Linked DNA regions of Homo sapiens: all the other regions are linked to region 1. Evidence: promoter capture Hi-C in 16 types of primary human blood cells and fetal thymus (Javierre and others, 2016). All regions are on one chromosome and are shown on one strand. Each heading gives the region's core, a stretch centred on a gene start or on the middle of the fragment in contact. The rest is flanking DNA. Distances are from core to core; before and after follow the strand shown. Region 1 holds the start of CAMK2D (calcium/calmodulin dependent protein kinase II delta). Region 2 has its middle 200 kb from the start of ARSJ. Region 3 overlaps ANK2 (ankyrin 2). Region 4 overlaps LOC105377374 (a long non-coding RNA gene). Region 5 has its middle 94 kb from the start of ARSJ. Region 6 overlaps CAMK2D (calcium/calmodulin dependent protein kinase II delta). Region 7 overlaps CAMK2D (calcium/calmodulin dependent protein kinase II delta).

The links. The method cuts DNA at HindIII sites, captures the fragments that hold promoters and counts their contacts. A CHiCAGO score of 5 or more calls a contact.
Region 2: a fragment that was not itself captured here is called in contact with the fragment with the promoter of CAMK2D in region 1 in 1 of 17 cell types (endothelial precursors); the score reaches 5.0 in endothelial precursors.
Region 3: a contact is called between a fragment that was not itself captured here and the fragment with the promoter of CAMK2D in region 1, in 1 of 17 cell types (activated CD4 T cells). The highest score is 6.0, in activated CD4 T cells.
Region 4: a fragment that was not itself captured here is called in contact with the fragment with the promoter of CAMK2D in region 1 in 1 of 17 cell types (activated CD4 T cells); the score reaches 6.1 in activated CD4 T cells.
Region 5: a fragment that was not itself captured here is called in contact with the fragment with the promoter of CAMK2D in region 1 in 2 of 17 cell types (total CD4 T cells and non-activated CD4 T cells); the score reaches 6.9 in total CD4 T cells.
Region 6: a contact is called between a fragment that was not itself captured here and the fragment with the promoter of CAMK2D in region 1, in 4 of 17 cell types (M2 macrophages, activated CD4 T cells, M0 macrophages and 1 more). The highest score is 8.3, in M2 macrophages.
Region 7: a contact is called between a fragment that was not itself captured here and the fragment with the promoter of CAMK2D in region 1, in 2 of 17 cell types (total B cells and activated CD4 T cells). The highest score is 6.5, in total B cells.

The regions. Positions count from the first base shown.
Region 1 is chr4:113,760,080-113,763,256 of GRCh38, forward strand. It overlaps CAMK2D (calcium/calmodulin dependent protein kinase II delta), which reads right to left and starts at 1,659. Exons shown (of 21, transcript NM_001321571.2): 1 at 925-1,659. The coding sequence starts at 989. RefSeq lists a silencer at 1,446-1,855 and enhancers at 1,849-2,387, 2,388-2,926. The HindIII fragment of the contact is 14,700 bases long and covers 1-3,177 here.
Region 2 is chr4:114,178,733-114,181,909 of GRCh38, forward strand. No RefSeq gene overlaps it. Among named protein-coding and RNA genes, the nearest start is that of ARSJ, 200 kb to the left of the region's middle. The HindIII fragment of the contact is 668 bases long and covers 1,338-2,005 here.
Region 3 is chr4:113,358,448-113,361,624 of GRCh38, forward strand. ANK2 (ankyrin 2) reads left to right here. Exons shown (of 46, transcript NM_001148.6): 38 at 1-852; 39 at 2,376-2,450. Among named protein-coding and RNA genes, the nearest start is that of MIR8082, 210 kb to the left of the region's middle. The HindIII fragment of the contact is 574 bases long and covers 1,171-1,744 here.
Region 4 is chr4:113,387,291-113,390,467 of GRCh38, forward strand. LOC105377374 (a long non-coding RNA gene) reads right to left here. Exons shown (of 5, transcript NR_199847.1): 5 at 203-1,160. Among named protein-coding and RNA genes, the nearest start is that of MIR8082, 240 kb to the left of the region's middle. The HindIII fragment of the contact is 2,369 bases long and covers 571-2,939 here.
Region 5 is chr4:114,072,526-114,075,702 of GRCh38, forward strand. No RefSeq gene overlaps it. Among named protein-coding and RNA genes, the nearest start is that of ARSJ, 94 kb to the left of the region's middle. The HindIII fragment of the contact is 1,497 bases long and covers 867-2,363 here.
Region 6 is chr4:113,479,467-113,482,643 of GRCh38, forward strand. The region is part of intron 16 of CAMK2D (calcium/calmodulin dependent protein kinase II delta); the gene reads right to left. Among named protein-coding and RNA genes, the nearest start is that of CAMK2D, 280 kb to the right of the region's middle. The HindIII fragment of the contact is 7,236 bases long and covers 1-3,177 here.
Region 7 is chr4:113,496,659-113,499,835 of GRCh38, forward strand. All of the region lies in intron 16 of CAMK2D (calcium/calmodulin dependent protein kinase II delta), which reads right to left. Among named protein-coding and RNA genes, the nearest start is that of CAMK2D, 260 kb to the right of the region's middle. The HindIII fragment of the contact is 2,636 bases long and covers 276-2,911 here.

The DNA of each region.
Region 1 (3,177 bases), core at 409-2,908:
TCCTTTCATAAAAGTAACAGTCGAAACTAGTGAAAGAGGAATTGGGTTTGGGTTCCATGCTACAAAAATCAGCATTCACGGCTTGGCCCCTAGGTCCCTTTGCATAAGTCCTCAGTAGGTCTCCTGCCTCCTTCCCTAACATCTCCAAGTAGTTCTGCCAGTCGGGTGAAGGAGGTGGTTTTACACAATGCTAGGCTACGCTTAAGAGCGCTCTCAGTCTCCAGAGGGCTTTTCCGTTGCCTGTATAAATAAATCCTCCCAGAGAACGCAAAGATGCACACGTAAATCCTAGGAAGAATGATGGTGAGCGGTAATCTGGTGCAAAGAACAACACTGGATATAGGGCAAGGGGTTGGGTTCTGTTGGGTGGCCCTTTTCCTGGACAGAACAACTACTGGATGCGAAATAGACTCTATGCCAAGTTGAACTTTCGGCATCAATAAATATGGCACCGTCTGAGGCTGTGAGTTCTCATCAGTACCTGGGTCATACGGCCGACACGCCGGCTAACCAGGAGGCATCTCTATTTACAGAAAACATGATCTATGTTGCATTTTACATGGGTTCTAATTTCCTCTCCAAACACACATTACACACAGGCGCGCGCGCACACTTCTCAGGATGATAGCTACAACTGCAGAGATCGTAAATTCACTAAGTCTCTCAGTGCAGGAGGGTGGGGGACCGGGAGAAGGTGGGCTAGGGACCATCAAAATGAGCCACAGTTGGAGTAAGGGTCCTACCCCTTCTGTGCTCCCTCCCTTTATTAAGACAGCACCTTCCCCAGAGCTGACAAACCAGGGGCCCTCCTCCCATTCCTCTCCCAAACTCCCTCGCCCCAAGACGGAGGCCGGTGGGTCGGGGGCAACGCGACCCGCCCTCAGCTGGAAAGGGGATATGCGGATGCCGGGCAAAGGTGCTTACTTTCCAAGCTCCTCGAAAAGCTGATACTCGTCCGTGAACCTGGTGCAGGTTGTGGTCGAAGCCATCCTCGGTCCGGGCTGTGCCCTGGCTGGGAGCGCGACGGACCAGAAGCGAGCAGACGCGCGGCTAACCCCGGGACTGGCCCCGCGGCGCTGTCACCCAGGGCCGCTCTTACTTTCCTGGTCCGAAAGTAGCTCGCCCGCGAGGGAGTGTGCGCAGGGGCGGGGCGGGAGGGGAGATGACCAGAAAGGGTGGCGTGGGGTCTCCTCCCCACAGTCCGCCGATCCTCCTCCTCCTGCGGGCCTCGCTTCCTTCTTCTCCACTGGACGCTCCACCCGCCCCTTTTCCAGTCCCTGTCCCCAAATGCAGGGGGTAAAGTACTCAAGAAGAGGGGGCCGGGAAATGGAAAAACAGCCAGGCACGGGACGAGTGGCAAGCAGTTGCGAAACGATCCGCACTGGAGCAGGAGGAGTAGAAGCAGAGGGGAGGGAGTCCGAGGGGGCGGAGGTGGAGTGCAGCGGGGCCGAGGCCGCGGAGCCCAGAGCGGACAGCCTGAGCCCAGCGGCCGCTGTCAGCAGGCTCAGGCGCGGGGCGCGCCGGGGCTCCGACGAGCGTGCGCGCCCGAGGCCGGCTTCCCTCCGGCGGGCGGCAGCGGCTCCGGCGAAGCGAGGCACCTTGGCGGCCTCGCGCTGCTCACGAGCCCGCGCGGCTTCAAGACGGCGCGGCGAGAGAAAGAGCGCTCGGCTCAGGCGAAGCCTCTTCTGCCGTCCCCAGGCCTCCGTCTCCTCCTCCGGCGCCTCCTCCCGCCGCTCCCTCCGCCTGCCAGCACCCCCTCCCTGGCGAAGCCCCCTCCTCGCTGGTCCCACACCTCCCTCTAGCGACTCCAAGCCTGTCCCTTCGTGGATCTCTCGCACTCCCTCCTTTGGTTGCACACACGAGCACACCAGTCTAGGGAGAAACCAGGTGGGTGGAGGAGGATGTGCGGGGGAGAAGACTGGAGGTTTGGGTGAATGAGGCGAGAAGTCACAGTTACCCATTTAAACCCGCACAGAGAAGGCTGCCTCAATCTGGGGCTGACTGAGCGGGAAGATGCAGGGCAACTCGAGGATGGCCCGGGGCAGCCGCCCTGGGTCGCGGAAGCCCACGCCCCTGTTTTGGGCGCCGGGCAGCAGGGACTTCTCCAGGCCGGTTCCCGGGCCACGACACCCGGTGGGCCGAGCAAGGGAGAGCAACCACTTCATCTCCACGCCGCTCAGAGTTGACACAGCAGGGGCCGGATGTGGGCTGTTCACTGCTCTCAGAGAAGGGTCCCAACCCTTCCCACAGCCACCAGCGACTGTCGGGGCAAAACCCAGCCTCAGCAGGGTTCACTGCGTCGCCAGCTCCCCAGAACCGGGCGCAGGTTTTCTCCCTCCCCCGCAGCCCCTTCTGCAAGGGGCAATGACGGCCCCTGAGCCACATTACACTTGCCACCTCCAGGCCCACCTCCCCCGCTGTTTTCCAGGATGGTGGCTGAGACTCTGGCAATCCCCAAAGGCCTTTGCTTTGGCTGTGAACGTTAAAAGAATGAAAGCAAAAACTCCGCCGCACAACCACACCTTCCCTTCCCTTCTGAGTAACTCCCCTGCAACCTCAGTAAGTTCTGATAGTAAGGCGAATTCTCGCGATATTTCCCACTCTGGCGGTCAGGGGGAGGTAGTAGGAAGGCTGGGTGTCGGTCACGCGACCCGGCGGGGGCTGACGTCATTCACATCACGTGAACACGTCTAGACTGTTTCGCTTTGCAAAGGGAAAAAAGAAAAGGGGCCGTCGTGTGTGCTTTTGCTTTCAGCCAGATAGTGGCAATTGAGTGCACTCCGTAAATGGCTATCTGGAAAAACCATTTAGCAGTTCAAGAATGTGTCCTTCCCTTTAGCATATCTGCCATTGTTTTCAGTAGGAGGAAAAAAAAAGTATGCATTACGATTTAAAATAGATAAACTGCTGCCGATTGCTAGAACAACTTCTGGGCCCTCTTTCCAGTTCTCCTTAATGAAACTATGCAATTGCAAATTTAGCCGCAGACCAAAAACAGCGTTATGGACGGTCTTTTTCAAATTACTGCCAATTGTTCTACAGCACGGGACTATAAAAACCTTGCAATCCTATTGCTAATTTGCTCGTGGTATTACTTCATAGACAAAATTTCACAGCTGAAAGATAAAAGATAATTTGCAGACACAAGAGAATCTAAGATTTAAAGGCGCTGCTGCT
Region 2 (3,177 bases), core at 422-2,921, 420 kb after region 1:
GTTTTATTTTTCCATCTGGGTCAGTGGGGTTAAAATTTTTAAGGGAAGAAAGATACCAGCTACCAGAATATGAAAAAGAAGGTGGAATAACAAATGTGATATGTGGAAGAATGGAAGAGACCAAAAAGGTTTCCTTACTAAGGGGAAACAAAGTTGCATATTGGTAAAATGTTGGTCAGCTAGGGGAAGAGAAGAATTAGCAATGAATGACAAATTATGCAAAATGAATCTAAAAAAAGAATTATAATTCACCAATAGAATACGAAAAGCTTCTCAGTTACACATATGATTAGGAAGATGCAAATAAAGCCACAATAAAATGTTAGTTTGAAACTACCAGGTTAGCAGCAATTATTTTTACATTTTATTATATTTAGTGTTAATAAAGGTGTGGAGAAACAAATATAGCTATACACAATTGGTGGAACATTAAGTTAATCCAATTTTTGGAGAGAAATCTGGCAATATCTATTAAAATTAAATTTTATATCCTTTGATAAACAATTTCACCTTCAGAAATGTAACCTTAATACAAAATGAATTTGTATGAATTTAAATTTGCGTTGTCTGTAAGTACAAAAAAATTGGAACAATTTAAATGTCTGTTAGAAAAGTTGATATTCTAATGATGTCAATTCTAACCAAAGTAAAAGATGGGAATTGAGATAGGATGTTATTCATGTAATAATTGATGGAAAGACTAATAGAACTAAATAGAGAGTCCAGAAAACCTATGTTTACGTGAAAATATAATTTATTTAGAAAAATTTCATGTAGGTGAGAAAAGTGTGAGGTATTCAATTAGTGGTAGAAAGACCATTGATTGTCAACTTGAAATAAAATAGATAAAGTTACTACATTTCATTGATTCTAACACTACTTCTTTTCATATTTAACATTTCTGAAATTTCTTACAGTTGGTGGAGAGTCATAGTTTAATTGGAAGCATTTTCTTTTCTTTCTTAGAAGTATATAAATTAAAATAATACTCTTAGAGTCCTATATTTAATAACATATGGTAGATCCCTACTTAACACAATAGAGGAAAATTAATTACACACACACACACACTCGTACATGCATAACAGATGTAAGCAAAGGTGAAAACACAGTAATTTTTATTTATAACTGAGAAGTTTGGATCTAGGCCGCAATTCTAATAGAAATTACAAAGGCTTTACCTGGCCATGGTAATGGGTAGAAAGCTGCCCTGCACAGTTCAAGCTTGGTGTATAATTAGTGCATTGCTGTCTCTGGAGGGAGTTGCATTGGAGGACTCAGCCTCCCAGCACCTCCCCTACCCCAGTGATCATGCTCATAGGTATTCCTGCATTCCAAGCTTAAGTGCCTCCATTCAGAGGCCTTCTTATTGGAAGATGAGGGAGGATGTCTGTTCAGACCCTTTTCAGGTGCCTCCACTGCCTATTTTTTGGAAGGGGGATGAGTGTCCTTGAATGAGTGTCCTCCTAAACTAAAAACCTGTACTGCACATTATTGTACTGAATACTGCAGGCAGTTGTAACACAACGCTAAGTATGTGTGTATCTAAACATAGAAAAGGGGTAGTAAAAATACAATATTATAGTCTTATGAGACCACTGTAGTGTACACGGGCTATCATTGATAGAACTGTCATTCTGTAGCACACAACTGGATATCTCAAATACAGTCAATAATTTAATTTTCTCATTTTTCTCAGAATTCCTGCTTTAATACTGCCATAAGCACTTGCTTTGTCTGATCAAGAATTAGTTTAGCAGGGTATACCTTGTGAGCAGGTTGGGGTGGTTCATCTGAGTGTGCTAAGAGAGTCCGTCCAGCATTCTGTTCAGGGATACTCTAGTAGCTGTGAAATTAAAAATGTTTGCTCAGTTGCTGCTAGGAAGGTCGACCTCCTCCCAGACTTCTGAGTCATGAGCCCTCTTGTGGGACGCAGCAAGTAGGGGCTGCGTCCAATGATGCTGCCATCTGCTGGCGTTGACTGCCCCATTTTCTCTGGCATGGAAGCTTCAGACATGTTTCGGAGCCCTGTGATCTTCAAGGACTAAATAGGGTTCACTCAAAATGCAAGTTGGGCTGACTCTGAGCAGAATAGGGAGAGAAAGGAACTGTCAGATTGTGCTTGGCCAGCTATTTCTCAAGGATGTTAGAAAAAATACTTTCAATATAATTTTTGGAAGATAACATCATTCATTTGCATAAAACAAGATGAACAAGACTAATTTCTAATTTGACAATTTGCTGTCCACAGAATTTTTCATTACTTGAATTATTTTATTTATTAAAAAAAAATCTCATCTCAAGAACTAGAGCTAGAATGGCACATAAAGAGGTAGCCTGGAGTGACTTTTACAAGAGTAAATGTTTTTCCAGTACTATGTTTGATTAATTACATTAGTCTAATAAGTTCAATTTCCTATCTACTGACTTTGATGTTCAGAATTATACTGAAGTTATCTGTTCAAAGACTGGTGATTAGCACAAGAAATTGACTTTATAATGGTTCAAATCTTTTGAAGGGCTAAATTGTGAGTTTCCCTAGAGGTATAGATTAACTACAGAATTGTTATTCTGAAATGCCAATTACTTTTCCACAAAAAATTATCAAAATGAACACATACATGATCTCTGTCTATCCCATCTATGCCTGCTTTCTCTTTGACTTACTCAGGTTCCTAATGGAGAAGAAAATGCAGCCATCAACATTGGCTTCTTTCTGGCTTGGTCCAAGCACATAATTTGTCCACATTGGACTCTCCACAGTTTATGAGTTCCAAGTCAGTGCTCAACACCCCTTGCCTCTCAATTTTCAGTTGAACTGAATGAAATGAAAAATAACTTCTCATAAAAAGGATGGGGATTGACTGAGGACTCTCTCAGATATTTTGACAAAAATTCATTCCTCAAATAGAGAACTACAGTATTCAAATTTTTTATTCAGTATAATTGAGTAACCCAAATGGTGGAAAAATAGTCACAGAGAAGATAATAAGGGTAATTATCTTATTACAGAGAAAACATATACTATGTAAAATTAAATTATCTTTAAAATATCTGGAGAATATATATAATACAAACTTTGTTAAAAAGAAGGAAACACTTATTATTCATCCCCCACACTCAGAGAGACGTACAGAAAATCATACTCAATTCTTTCCTTGGGAGGATCACTTCTGG
Region 3 (3,177 bases), core at 208-2,707, 400 kb before region 1:
CCCCAGAAGAACAGAAATCAGTAATCGAGATTCCTACTGCACCCATGGAGAATGTGCCTTTTACTGAAAGCAAATCCAAAATTCCTGTAAGGACTATGCCCACTTCCACCCCAGCACCTCCATCTGCAGAGTATGAGAGTTCAGTTTCTGAAGATTTTCTATCCAGTGTAGATGAGGAAAATAAGGCGGATGAAGCAAAACCAAAGTCCAAACTCCCTGTCAAAGTACCCCTCCAAAGAGTTGAACAGCAGCTCTCAGATCTAGACACCTCTGTCCAGAAGACAGTGGCTCCTCAGGGACAGGACATGGCAAGCATCGCACCAGATAATAGAAGCAAATCTGAATCTGATGCTAGTTCTTTGGATTCAAAGACCAAATGCCCAGTAAAAACCCGAAGTTACACTGAGACAGAAACAGAGAGCAGAGAGAGGGCCGAGGAACTTGAGTTAGAATCAGAAGAAGGGGCCACAAGACCAAAGATACTTACATCCCGATTGCCAGTTAAGAGCAGAAGCACTACATCTTCCTGCAGGGGGGGCACGAGCCCCACAAAAGAAAGTAAGGAGCATTTCTTTGACCTTTACAGAAATTCCATAGAATTCTTTGAGGAGATTAGTGATGAGGCTTCCAAATTAGTGGATAGGCTGACACAGTCAGAGAGGGAGCAGGAAATAGTTTCAGACGATGAAAGTAGTAGTGCCCTGGAAGTATCAGTAATTGAAAATCTGCCACCTGTTGAGACCGAGCACTCAGTTCCTGAGGACATCTTTGACACAAGGCCCATTTGGGATGAGTCTATTGAGACTCTGATTGAACGCATCCCTGATGAAAATGGCCATGACCATGCTGAAGGTATTTGCCAGCCACCGGGATTCCCTGTGCTACGCATGTCATAAAATTGATATAGTTTTTTTGTATGTTTGTTTTATTTGATGATTTGTGTCTCATTTTCTTTAAGCTTTCTGTAGTGGCTAATGTGTTTGTGTAAGCCCTTTGTGTTTTGTGCTTTCTCTGTATACTCTTGTCTAAGAAAACAATCTCAAGATTGAGTAATGAGAATGCTTATGGAAAACATAAACATAATAACCGGGCAACAGTGATCTTGCCTTTTTTAGCCTCTGCACGTAATAAGGCCATGCGAGCTTTGAGTTTTGTTGTTCTGAAGTCCCAAGCTTAGACTCAAATTAAGCACTTTTGCACATAAATATATTGTATTTTGTTTCATAGTATGAAGACATTGCTTTTCTTCTTATCTTCGCATACTTTAAAATAATTTGTACTTACAATTTTGTAATCATTAGGAAGCCATTTGCTTGAGAAGATTTCACATAACATGAAATTCTAATTGTTGTGGATCTGTTTTTGATTCAGAAAGGTTGGATTTCAGATACCATTGGTAAATACTTTAAGCAAACAAACCTAAGGTAAAAATATGCTTTTCATTTATGTGGTAGATGAATGGAGAATGTACTCTCATTAGATGCAGCAGACAACAAAAACTCAAACTTTGCACAGTTTAAGTTGACTGTGAGGGGATGATGGCTCTTTGACTTATAAAAAAGGAAACCATAGATGGCTTTGAAAAGTAGCCTGTGTTCTTCCAATATCTCTACAATGAAGACTGTCATTCTTAAATTGAGGTTATACAAACTTTCCTATACCATGGTCTAAAATGCTGCCTATCAATCAGTGGGAGTTAAACATGAATGGGAAAATTATAGTTTATAGGAGTGAGTAGTATATAAGCTTAATAGCAAGAAGGCAGAAACTTTGCCCAAAAGACATATATGCATACAGATACAATATACACATAAAAATGCATATGCTTTTATCCTCGTTTCTCCAAGGTCACCAGGACCAAATGTTGTTTCTGGCCACACTAATCAGGATGGCCTGATCAGCTCATGATCAACATCTCTTGTGAATCTCTGATGTGATTCCTTTCAGACATGACCTGGAAATGATCTATCCCTCCACAAGCAATAATAGGAGGTCCTAGCCAATTGCTCTACTTCTGCATCCCATTTATGATTTCTCTGGTGTTTCATGAACAAGATGGTGGTCTTCTTGGTGGGCAGTATTCTCTCCAATAATTTAAAAGTCATAAGATTACTAGAAATCAGCAACTTATATAATTATGTCTAGAACTAGTCTTGATTAAAGAGATATGGAAGCAGATGGTTTTCATGATTCATATTAGATCTATTCCCCATTCCACCCCAGAAATCAGACACACAATATGATCTGAAATGTAGTATCTAGTTTGTGCTTTCAAATATTTGGAGAAGTGACTTCCTTTCTTTGAATGAATCAGTACTGTGGTTCCTCTCCTGTCATAGACAACCTTTGGCCATTCTGTTTTTGACCTTCTCCAGATCCACAGGATGAGCAGGAACGGATCGAGGAAAGGCTGGCTTATATTGCTGATCACCTTGGCTTCAGCTGGACAGGTAAAAAGAATGTGACCCAGGTTTTCAACAAAACCTGACATAGATGCATCAGTCAGGTGTCATTCACAGCATAAAAGGTACCCCCCACTTTCTTGAGAAAGAATACATGAAAAGAAGAATAAACTAAGAACTAGAAAACCTGGGCTCTGCATCAGCTAATGGTATAGCCCAGGGCAGGCCTTTTATCATCTCTGAAATTTAGAATAATAGAACTTTCTATTTGAAGATTTAGAGAATATACCAACATTCAGGAACCTCTGTTGGCAGTTGTGGATATCTAAATTTGGGGGAGATTATTATGTTTCAAAATCATTTTTAGATGTAATTTTTATCAAATTTAATGTGAGATTTAACCAGGGCTCCTTCTTTTAGATACCTTATGTCAAAAATCTTCATAGTAAACAACACTAAAAATTGCTTTGGGTAAGTGTTAAAACACACATGAATGAGATATTTCACTAATATTTTTGAGAAATGAGAGTGTTTAAGTATAGAAATTTTATGTTAATAATTTATTAAGGAAAAGTGAATTCTAAAATCAATATACTTTATTTACACATTATGAATTGTATGTTTTAAAAACTATACATTTTCATCTACTTGTGACTTAACCTATTAAAGCAAGATTCTCAGTCTGGCTTTTTTTTTTTTTTTAATATCACTTGTGACTACTTCAAAGAGACAAACATTGTAAAATAATATTCTTTTCCTTTCCATTTCTTAGATT
Region 4 (3,177 bases), core at 505-3,004, 370 kb before region 1:
TTAGGGGCTTTGACATGAATTTGGAGGAGGAGAGGACACAATTCATCCCCTAACAATTGGGCTTAATCCAAAAAACAAAGCCCTCTAGGTATTTTAAGAAGGAAGGGATCTAATGCAGGGGATTAGAAACTCACACCAGTGTCAGGAGTGCCACAACAAATGAAGGCAGGTGTAAACCAAAAACGATCTGAGACAGGTCGCAATCAGTTTAGAAATTTATTTTGCCAAAATTGAGGACATGCCTGGGAGATAGGTCTGTGCCTTCTTCGAAAATAATTTTGAGGGCTTCAGTATTGAACGGGGAAAAGCAGGCTGGAGGAGGAAAAGGAAGGGTATGATCACACTACTAAATTCACATGCTGCAAGGGAAAAGGAGCAGGTAGGGGAATACTCAATTATGTATTCGTTTGGCACTCAGTAAATTGGCGCTTTACATAGAGTAGCTACCCGTGGGGATTTTTAACCTTTTATTGTAGCTATCTGCTTAGAAACAAAAGGAAAGTCAGTGTCTTGCTTGACTCAGCTTTCAGCTTAATTTTTTCCTTGTGGCATAGTGCATTGGGGGTCCCAAGCTTTTATTTTCCTTTCACACTGAGGAGCTACTACTGCTACGAAGAAATCCACCAGTGCAGAAATCAGAAATCCAAGCTGCCACTGAAGGGCTCAGATTCATGTAGCAGCAAAGTATATGTTTCTTAGGAGATAGCCCATATATGGCTGCAAAAACACTCCATGTGTCTTCTGCCAGAGTCCATGCACCTCTCCCCAGCTGCTCCCAAAGGTATAATCATTTTTCTTCTCTTTCCTTTTCAAATCTTGGGCAAACAACTTTCATCGGCAAAATCAAATACATAACCCCACTGGAAAGGGATTCCAAAAAATGTATACCTGAGGCTCTTCCCCCAACATGCAGGGAAGAATGTAGAATAGGTCCAAAATAATGCTCAGCTGCTAACAATCAATCACAGTGGCTAAGCCAGAGAATAACAGTCTTCATCCATCCACAAATGCATGCAATTCAAGACCTACTATATTTTAAACATTGTGCTATAGTGCTCAGGGTAGACTGGGCCAAGATCATGGCCCAATGGGTCACTTTTGCTGAGTTTTCACTATTGCCAGTTACTATTCAATGCTCTTCTTTCATCTCCATCACAATCCTAGGAAACAGATCCAGGTGAGGAAACTGAGGGGAAAAGAAATTGAATAACATGCCCCAAATCATGCAGAGAGAAAACGACAAAGCTGGGATAAGAACTCAAGCAAATGGCACCAACAATAAACAACACTCCATCTTTGAAAAACACAGACCCTTCCCTTTGGATTTATAATCTTGCAGCAGAGACATATTGAACTGATCATTTAACAATTAATTAAAAATTACTTTTCTTCCGGAAAAAATTCTTCTTCTTCTGGAAAAATATATTTATAAAGGGAAACAGACCTTATTCAGTAACTTTGTCATTACTATTCTGAAAAATCTCTTTCTTGCTTCTCAAGCCCATTTTCTCTTCCTTATCTGCTTCACATTTGGCAGATGAACTTGACGCTGTTTTATAAGAAAGTAGATGTCAATGGGCATGAATTACTACAATGCTATATTAGGGTTCTCTGGAAAAACAGAACCAATAGTGTGTATGTGCCTGTGTGCATGCATGCCTGTGTGTGTGTGTGTGTGTGTGTGTGCACACATATATAAAGAGATTTATTGTAAGGAATTGTTCCACATGATGATGGAGGTTGAGAAGTCGCAAGATCTGCACTCAGCAGAGTGAGCAGAGCTGATATAGATTCAGTCTGAAGGCAGGCTTGAGATCCAAGAAGAGCCAGTGTTTCCGTTTGAGTCTGAAGGCAAGAAAACTAATAGCTGAAGGGCAGTCAAGCAGAAGTTTTGTCTTAGTTTCTTTTATTTTCTTTTTGTTGTTGTTCTATGTAGGTCTTTGATTGATTGGGTGAGGCCCACCTGTATTAGGGAGGGCAGTCTGCTTTACTCAGTTCACCCATTCAAATGTTAATCTCATTCTACAAACACACTCACAGACATACCCAGAATAGGGTTTAACCAAATATCTGGGCACCCCATGACCCAGTCAAGTTAACACGTAAATTAGCCATCACAAATGCCTTTTCTATTACTACCTCCAAAATTGTCTGTATTTACGTGAACCCTACTACTCATTGTTCTCACAAAGAATGCTCTCTTGTCTCCTGGATTTATGGCCTGTGTCCTTGCTATGGTCTAAATATTATGTTCAAAATTCGTATGTTAAAATCACCCTTGCAATGTGATGGTATTAGGAAGTGAGGCCTTTGGGAGGTGATTCATATGTTGAAATCCTCCACCCTCAACATGATAGTATTAAGAGGTGGGGCCTTTGGCAGGGCTTCACCTTCATGATTCGGATTAGCATCCTTATAAGAGAGACCCCAGAGAGCTAGCTAGTTACTTCTGCCATGCGAGGACACAGTGAAGGTGCCATCCATGAACTGGAAAATGGGCCCTCACCAGACACCAAATCTGCTGGCATCTTGACCTTGGATTTCACAGTCTCCATAACTGTGAGAAATAAATGTCTATGTTTACAAGCTGTCCAGTTTATGGTATTTTGTTACAGCATCCCAAACGGACAAAGACATTCTTGCTGTCCCCTCCCCATCTCCTGCGGCCTTGCTCTGTCATGGTGTGCTCACTGATGATGGCTTTCTCTCCCAGCCTGTGAGCACAGCTTATGAGAAAAATAGATTTATCCCTGAATCCTGTCTTTACACCTAACTAATGCTCTCTTTCTCTCTCTCTTTTCCTTTGCCTTTTTTTCTACATATGCTTTCCTAGTTTTTCATTACTCAATCTTCCTGCAGTGTGGCTTCAAAAAATGCTGAACAGTAAACATATTAGAAACTATGAGATATGGCTAAACAGAGGTCAGAAGAAAACTAAAAGCTTCAAACTAGGGTTCTAATTCCTGTGCTGAGAGTAGCCAGACAGGAAAATAATATGTGAATTGTCTGAACATAGAAAATCAGGAGAGGGGCTGGCCTATGGCAAACTTAAGAGAACATGCCACATATTATATATATTGAGATAAATAGAAACCTTCAATTTATGAAGGTTTTAATGTAGGAAATAAAAATGTGAAAATGCAAAATATATCTAAGAGTTACCTTTTGAAATAATAA
Region 5 (3,177 bases), core at 365-2,864, 310 kb after region 1:
CACTATTAACCTTGAACATGAATTACCTAAATGCTCCACTTAAATGACATAGATTGGCAAATTGGATAAAAAAAAACAAGATCCATCCTTCTCTTGTGTTCAAGAGACCCATTTTACATGTAATGACACCCCCAGGCTCAAAGCAAAGGGATAGAGACAGATCTATCACACAAATGGAAAACAGAAAGGAGGAGTGGCCACTTTTCTTATATTAGATAAAGTAGACTTTAAACCAACAACAGGAGAAAAGAAAACAAGAAGGCATTACATAATGATAAAATGTTCAACTCAACAAGAAGACTTAATTATCCTAAATATATATAGACTCAAATTTGGAGGGCCTAGACTTCTAAAACAATGACTTCCAGACGTAAGAAAAGATTTAGACAGTTACACAATAATAGTGGGGAACTTCAAAACCTCACTGACAGCATTAGACAGATCACTGAGGCAGAAAACTAACAAAAAATTCTGGGCTTAAATTCAAGACTTGACCAATTGGATCTAATAGAAATCTACAGACTATCCCACCCAACAACCACAGAATACATATTATTCTTATCTGCACATGGAACATACTTTAAGATTACCACCTGCTCAGTCATAAAGCAAGTCTTAATAAATTTTAAAATATTGAAATCATAACAACCATCTTGTAAGACCACAGGGAATAAAAATAGAAATCAATACCAAGAGTAGCTCTTGCAGCCACACAAATACATGGAAACTAAACAAGTTGTTTCTGAGTGACTTTTTGGTAAACAACAAAATTAAGGCAGAAATGTAAAAATTCTTTGAATCAAATGAAAATAGAGGCACAACATACCAAAACCCCTGGAATGCAGCAAAAGCAGTGTTAAGAGGAAAGCTTATAGTGCTAAAAATGCCTACATCAAAAGATAGAAAGATCTCAAATTAACAACCTAACCTCATATCTGAAGAAAGTAGGAAAACAAGAGCAAACTAACCCCAAACCTAGCAGAAGAAAAGAAATAACTAAAGTCTGAGCAGAACTAAATGAAATTCAGACCAATAGAATCATACAAAGTTTCAATAAAATAAAAAGTTGGTTGCCTTTTGAACGGATAAACAAGATTGATAGACCGCTGGCTGTATTAACAAAGAAAAAAAGACAAGAGATCCAAATAAGCACAATCAGAAATGACAAATGTGACATCACAACAAATCACACAGAAATACAAAAGATCCTCAGAGACTACTATGAACATGTCTATGCACACAAACTAGAAATTCTAGAGGAAATGGATAAATTCCTGGAAACATACCACTTCCTAAGATAGAACCAAGAAGAAAATTAAATTCTGAACAGACTAATAACTATTAATGAAATTGAATTGGTAATAAGTAACCTACTAAGCAAAATAGCCCTGGACCATATGGATTAATAGCCAAATTCTACCAGATGTACAAGGAAGAACTGGAAACAATCCTACTGAAACTAGGATAAAGGGGGAGAAACTTCTCCCAACCTCATTCTGTGAAACCAGTATCATCCTGATACCAAAATATGGCAGAGACACAACAAAAAAGAAAACTATAGGTCAATCCTCTGATGAACATAGATGCAAATATCCTCAACAAAATACTAGCAAACTTAATCCAGTAACATATCAAAAAGTTAAATCACCACAAGCCAGCTTTATTTCTGGGATGCAAGGATGGTTCAACATAGGCAAATCAGTAAATGTGACTCACCATATAAAACAAATTAAAAACTAAAACCATATAATCATTCAATAGATGCAAGAAAGCATTTGACAAATCCAAAATCCTTTCATAATAAAAACCTTCAACAATCTAGGCATTGAAGAAACAAATCTAAAAATAGTAAGAATGATCTATGAAAAACCCACAGCCAACATCATACTGAATGGGCAAAAGCTGGCAGCATTCTCCATAAGTACTGGGAAAAGACAAGATTTTCCACTCATTACATAATAGTATTCAACTTAGTATCGAAGAGCTAAGCCAGAGCAATCAGGCAGGCAATACAAATAAAAGGCATCTAAATACAAAAAGAGGAAATCAAATTATCTCTCGTCACTGACAATATGATTCTTTATCCATAAAACCCTAAAGATTCTGCCAAAAGACTCCCAGCCCTGATAAATGAATTTGGCAGTGTTTCAGGATACAAACTCAATGGATAAAAATCAGTAGCATGTCTATACAACAATAATGTTCAAGCTGAGAACCAAATCAAGAACACAAAACCACTTACAGTAACCACATGCAAAAATAAAATACCTGGTATTACATTTAACCCAGGAGGTGAAAGACTTCCACAATGAGGAGTAGAACATACTGCTGAAAATATTATAGATGACACAAACAAATGGAAAAGCTTATGGATTCTATGCTTATGGATTGGATGATTCAATATTGTTAAAATGTCCAAGCTGCTGAAAACAATCTACAGATTCAATGCTTTTCCTGTACCTAGTTCAAAAGTAAACCAAAAAGAGACCATTGAAATAAAGCCACACATTGGCCAGGCACGGTGGCTCACACCTGTAATCCCAGCACTTTTGGAGGCTGAGGTGGGAAGATCACATGAGGTCAGGAGTTCAAGACTAGCCTGGCCAACATGGTGAAACCCTGTCTCCACTAAAAATACAAAAATTAGCCAGACATGGTGGTGGATGCCTGTAATCTCTGCTACTCAGGAGGCTGAGGTAGGAGAATTGCTTGAACCTGGGAGGCAGAGGTTGCAATGAGCCAAGATCATGCCATTGCACTCCAGCCTGGGTGAGAAGAATGAAACTCCATCTCAAAATAAAATAAAATGAAATGAAATGAAATGAAATGAAATGAAATGATGAAATGAAATGAAATGAAATAATGAAATGAAATGAAATGAATAAAATAAAATAATAAAATAAAATAAAATAATAAAATAAAAAATAAAAGCCACACATCTACAACCAACTGATCACCAACACAGTTGACAAGAATAAACAATGGAAAAATAAATGGTACTGGGAAAACTGTCTAACCATATGCAGAAGAATGAAACTGGATCCCTACCTCTCATTATATACAACAATTAACTCAAGATGAATTAAAGACTTAAATGTAAGACCTCAAACTACAAAAATACTGGAAGAAAACCTAGGAAATACTCTTCTAGACACTGGCCTAGGCAAAGAATTTATA
Region 6 (3,177 bases), core at 175-2,674, 280 kb before region 1:
GAAACCTCATAATTAATTCATTAATCTATTAAGTGCCTATTATATGGTACTATGGAGGCCAAAAGTAGTGAACTAAAATACTTTAATTGTTTAAAATTCATAATGAGTTAAAAGAACACCGTCATCTTCACAAACACTTTAAAAAAACCATCAGTTTCGATTTTAAAGCAAAAATGAACTTGTTTTCTGCACTTGGGCAGCTTTATGTAGTTTGGGTATTTATGCACATAGGTTGGCTGGATGTGGGTCTTAACATTTATACCTACTTATCTAAAATAAATGTTTCAGAAAATAGAAACGATGTTTAAAAACACACACACAGTTCTCTCTGGATTTATGGACTGTTTTAAATCATGGGCCAGGAATTATACTAGGCATTTAATAGATTGTATCACTATTCAACATGAGTATGCTCTCTTATTGTTATTATTATTTTCAGGTTGAGCCATATGAAATTACTTTTGTAGGTAAAAAATGGTTAGGTATTGACATATTATTATTATTTTTGTTTTAGAGATGGAGTCTAACTCTGTCGCCCAGGTTGGGGTGCAGTGGCGGGATCTTGGCTCACTGCAACCTCTGCCTCCCGGGTTCCAGCAATTCTCCTGCCTCAGCCTCCTGAGTAGCTGGGACTACAGGTGCATGCCGCCACACCGGCTAATTTCTTTTGTATTTTAGTAGAGACAGGGTTTCACTGTGTTGCCCAGGCTTGTCTCGAACTCCTGAGTTCAGGTAATCCGCCCGCCTCGGCCTCCCAAAGTGCTAGAATTACAGGCGTGAACTACCGCACCCGGCCAGCATTGACATATTATTATCCCTATTGTACATATGACTCAGAATGGTTTACATGAGCAGTCAGAATGCATATTCAATGGAGAGCTGGGCTGGGATTCAAATCTAGTATATTTGACACCAAAGCGCGTCCTCCATTCCAATAGGAAAAAACATCCTATGACTTAATGCTATGATATGAATGTATGCGTCCCTACAAAGTCCATGTTGCACCTTAATACCAAACATTGATGGTATTAACAGGTGGGGCCCTTGAGTGGTTATTAGAAGGGGACTAGTGCCCTTATAAAAGGGCTTGAGGGCCGGGTGCAGTGGCTCACATCTGTAATCCCAGCACTTTGGGAGACCAAGGTGGGCGGATCACTTGAGGTCAGGAGTTCGAAACTAGCTTGGCAAACATGGTGAAACCTTGTCTCTACTAAAAATACAAAAATTAGCTCTGCACGGTGGCGGGTGCCTGTAATCCCAGCTACTCGGGAGTCTGAGGCAGGATAATTGCTTGAACCTAGCAGGCGGAGGTTGCAGTGAGCTGAGATTGTGCCACTGCACTCCAACCTGGGTGACAGGGTGAGACTCCTCTTCAAAAACAAAAAAAGGGCTTGAGGGATTGGCTAGTCCCTTCCATTCCTTCTGCCATGTGAAGACACAGCAAGAGGTGCCATTTTTAAAGCAGAGAGCAAGCGTTCACCAGACATCAAGTCTGCTGGCACCTTGATCTTAGACTTTCCAGCCTCCAAAACTGTGAAAAATAAATTTCTACTATTTATAAATTACCCAGTCTGTGATATTTTGTTATAGCATCACAAATGGACTAAGACACTTTTAAAACATGCATTTTCGGTGTTTTTAACTCCTAAATTATGGAGCGAGGTAATTATATGTACAAAAACCTACACAGAAAAAGTTGTAAACTGATCACAATTTCAGGAGAATTCCGATCATTTTAGTGGCTGCTAGGACATGTCATGGTTGGTATCCACTATGCTTCCTTCCTCTACCAATTAAATATTTATTATTCCCACTATTGCCCAACACTATTCTAGATACTATGAATATGGCTATAAACAAAACAGACAAAAATCTCTGCTCTACAGAAACTTACATTTTAGTAGGGGGAAGAGGAACAGGAAACAAGTAAAATAGATATTTCAGATAATAAATATAAAGAGAAAAGTAAAACAGGAGAATGGGGAGTGCTGGATTTGGAGGGATGTAAATTTTCATTTTATTTTATTTTTTGAGACAGAGTCTCACTCTGCTGCCCAGGCTGGAGTGCAGTGGTGCCATCTCAGTTCACTGCAACCTCTGCCTCCCAAGTTCCAGTGATTCTTGTGCCTCAGCCTCCCAAGTAGCTGAGATTACAGGCATGCACCACCACACCTGGCTAATTTTGTTGTATTTTTAGTAGAGATGGGGTTTTGTCATGTTGGCCAGGCTGGTCTCAAAAACTCCTGGCCTCAAGTGATCTGCCTGCCTCCCAAAGTGCTGGGATTACAGGCATGAACCACCATGCCCAGTCTGGAGGGATGTAATTTAAAATAAGGTAGTAAAAGATCTCACAGAGAGGGTAACTTTTGATAACATTTGGTCAGAGACTTAAAAAGAGAAAGGGCAGTAAGCCACATGGAAATGTGTATCAGGACATACCAGACATGGAATAGTAAGTGCAAGGCCCTGTGGCAGGAACCTGCTTGATACATTTCAGAAACAGTGTTCCTGATGCACATATAATAATAGGACATTAAGTCAGATGGCAAGGCAAGGCATGTCTGAAGGAGCCCTGGTCATGGTAGGCCTTTTAATAGATTCTGATGTCTTTGGCAGCCACTGGAGAATACAGAGCAAGAGCAGCACATGATCTAATGTATTTTTGAAAGTGTAACTCTATTCTCTGTTGAGAATAGACTGTAAGCAGAAGCAGGTCAATGGCTAAGAAGCTATGTCAATAATATCAGCAAAAGATGATTATATCTTAAGTTAGAGTGATGGCAATGGAGTTGGTGAGCAGCAGTCAATTCCAAAAAAAAGTGTGCATTTTGAAGAACTAGTAGGATTTTCTGAGACCGCATGTGGGGTATAAGCAAAACTAAGGAGACAAAGAAATTAAAAGAAACTGAGGAGACAAAGAAAGACTAAGGATGATGATGAAGGTGTGTTAAAAGCACTAGAATATAACATAGTCATATCAATTCAGTTTTCTTAGATGCATTTGAACACAAACATATTAAAAATGGTTGAGACATACTATACAGGAGTATTGCAATGAGTAATGCAGTAGTGCAGACTGCACTGATAGTACTATGGAAGTGAGGAGAAATGAAAGAGAAATGTTCTTTGGAGGTGACATTTAAAAATATAACTTAATCTATAACTTATATTAAATAA
Region 7 (3,177 bases), core at 344-2,843, 260 kb before region 1:
GGCTAGTCTTGGACTCCTGACCTCAAGGGATCTGCCTGCCTCAGCCTCCGAAAGTGCTGGGATTACAGGTATGAGCCACCACTCCCAGACTCCCATTTGCTTTTAAACTATTAGTAACTCTCCATGACACTGAGTTTGCTGCTGAGTTTCCTGACATAGCATCATCAGAGATAATATTTGGTTTTAAACACTGAACAAAATTAGAAAGCTGCTCAAGAGGTCAACACTAGGGTGTCAACACATTGCCTTGGAGAAAGAAAACAATGAACTCTGGAAGCTTTTTAAAAAGAAGAGTTGTAAAACAATGCCAGTCCCTTGGGATGATTACGAGCTTGGGAAGAAAAATGTGGTTAGAGCTAAATGTTGAAGGTTTTTAAGAAAAAGGAAATAAAAGAACTTTTAGATTTAAAAAAATGTATTTATTTTGGGTCTCACTTTTTTCCTGGGTTTCACTGAGTTTTTTTTTTTTTAGGTAAAACATGCATATATGTTGGGTTTCACTAATTTTTCTTGATAGTTATTGTATTAAGTAAGATAAATGGGCCTACATTATAGCATAACAAGATTCATATAAAGGGTAGGAAACAGCATTTTGACTCTGGTGCATTCAAATCTCTTGAACATGGCTAGTTCAAAAAGAGAAGCACATGGAAGTCAGGTAAAGAGAAGGGATTCAATAAATATTTGCTGAATGAAGAAACAGCCTAGACACAATTCAAAAGTATTACACAGACTGGGGACATGATTTCTCAATGGAAACTAATTAGAAGAGCTGAAGGAAAATGGGCCTTTAAATCTTGGCTTTCTAAGGTGCTCCAGACTGAGGAACCATTAATCTCTGACTACTTTTGCTTTCTTTTATCTTTCTTTGAGAACAGCTGGCCTTGTCTGCCTTTTCCCATTCAAAGACGCCAGAAAGAAAAACTTTGTTGTTAGTTTACCTCATTTCTTCCTTTGACCGGGTTACCACAGTGTTTAATCCCCTCCTCCAGCAACTCCATGTTTCTTTACATTGGAGAGGACACAGAAGCTGTCCCTGCCAGGTTAGTCCTTGGGGATGGGGCAGAATGTGCACTGCCTTGGTATGGGAGGCATGTGACATGGTATTCAAGGAATCATATACCACCATAAAACAATGTAAGTCTAGGTGCTGGTGTTAGATGCACTATAGCTGGGACAGCCAGCAGCAATGGGTAGAGCAAGTGCTCGCATGCAGAAGTATGTATGGGGGTATGCCTTTAAGAATATGTCAAAAAGTGTGGTGTCTCACTGATCACAATGTTGTCTACAGAAAAGAGAAGGTTGAAAAGTATGTGTGTGGAAGACACAGTTTTGTAGATATGACATGGTTTTGTAGATGGGATACAGTTTTGGTCAGATTATTTAACTGATAGTAATTGTGAGTTCTTGGATGTTAGTTATAGAATGTTAGATATAGGTAAATTTTGGTTTCAACAGAGCTGGACAATAAACACATTCCCTACCAAGCTACTGAGAGCCACAGCAATTCTAAAGTAAAAATAAGAGAGCATAATTATTCACATATAGGGTCTTTCTTGAGGACCATGCACTGATAAATGGAGAGATTCCCACACAAACAGATCATCAGCATAATAAATAATTTAAAATCACTTAAGACCATTTTATCTACCACTTGTCCCAGTAAAAATGATGGGGCCTAGGCAATCTTTCAAAGTGTCTTCTAGTCTTAAAGGTTTCTGATATCATTCAATATTAAAAGGGTTAGTCTCCAGAAGGCTGTCTGGGTCTTACAGAGAACACAAATGAGTCCTAATGGGCTATGGTTATGACATTTTTGGCCAGATCCACACCAGCAAAATTAAGCAGAAACTTAAATAATGTATTTATTAAGGTAATAAAGCTAAGCACTTTGGGTTAAACGATCAACTGGACATTTCTTTTGATCTCAATATGATGCTGAATTCCTCTAATACTTGTATACAGACTCAATGTAATTATAAATACAAATACTATCTCAATTTATGAAATCCCAGAGGCAAGATGAAACCCATATCATTGTTATGATTTGAATTGGAGAACTGTTTTCTAAGAACTGATATTATTATTTCATTTTATCAAAAATAAATTACAAACTACAAGGTAACACTGACAGGAACTCTGTTTATACATTAATGTTTACATAGATTAATAGCAATGATCCTGAACCAATACTTAGTACAGTTGAGTGCCAAATTCAGGTGAGAAAGACCACTTATTAAAACCCTTCTCATGATTACGTTCCTTGGCAGATGAACTGCATATAGTAAGGTGCTGGTATTCTCCTAATTTTATTTGGTTATTTAAAGATTCAGTTTCTCCAGTGGACAATGAACAAGTTTTCTTAGTCTTGCTCAAGGGAAGAATGTGAAAATTCATATGAAACATTTAGCTTAGCTTAAAGAGCTAATGAATCCAAAACACAAAGATAATGCTTCCTGAATCAGTGGGAAAGCTAAATGGCATATCTATTTATTTGGCTAAAAAAAAAGAATATTTTTATCTAATATGACTGGTATCAATGATTCATAAAACTACTTCAGTTCAAATTTTAGCTTAAGTGCAAAGAGTGAGATGAATAGACCTACTAAATAAAATTCTTGACACAGCTATCTACCTTTCCACTGTAAAAAATGACTGACTACCTCTAGCAGAGTTAGGTCAGTGTGCTTAGTTATATAAATAGAGAGTACACTTTAACAGCATCAGCTGTTCTATTCAAACAAAAAGGAAAAAGTCAGCAGAGCTGACTGCCAAGTTGTGATCTACAGCCATTTTTATTTCCTAAATTGACCCCACGTCTCCTTGACCTGAGAATTTCCAAATCCTTTATTCTAAAATATGAATACAACTTTACAAGACTTTATTGTATTAACACTACCTTTAGAATTAAAGCTTATGGTGATACTATTAGGTCAGTAATCTTTTCAGATGAGGTTTAATTAATTTATGGATCATTGCTCCCAATTTATATTTCTTTTCCTTTAATATTTCTGTTTCAAATATCCTACTGTTACCGCTGTTTGTCAGAATATCTTCTAGACAACTGGTCTATAGAGACTGTAGTTATATATAATGAATTACAAAAACAACATAAAACTGCAAATGCAATTGATACAAAAGTAATACTTCTAAAACAGTGATGTGGCCAAAGGAGGT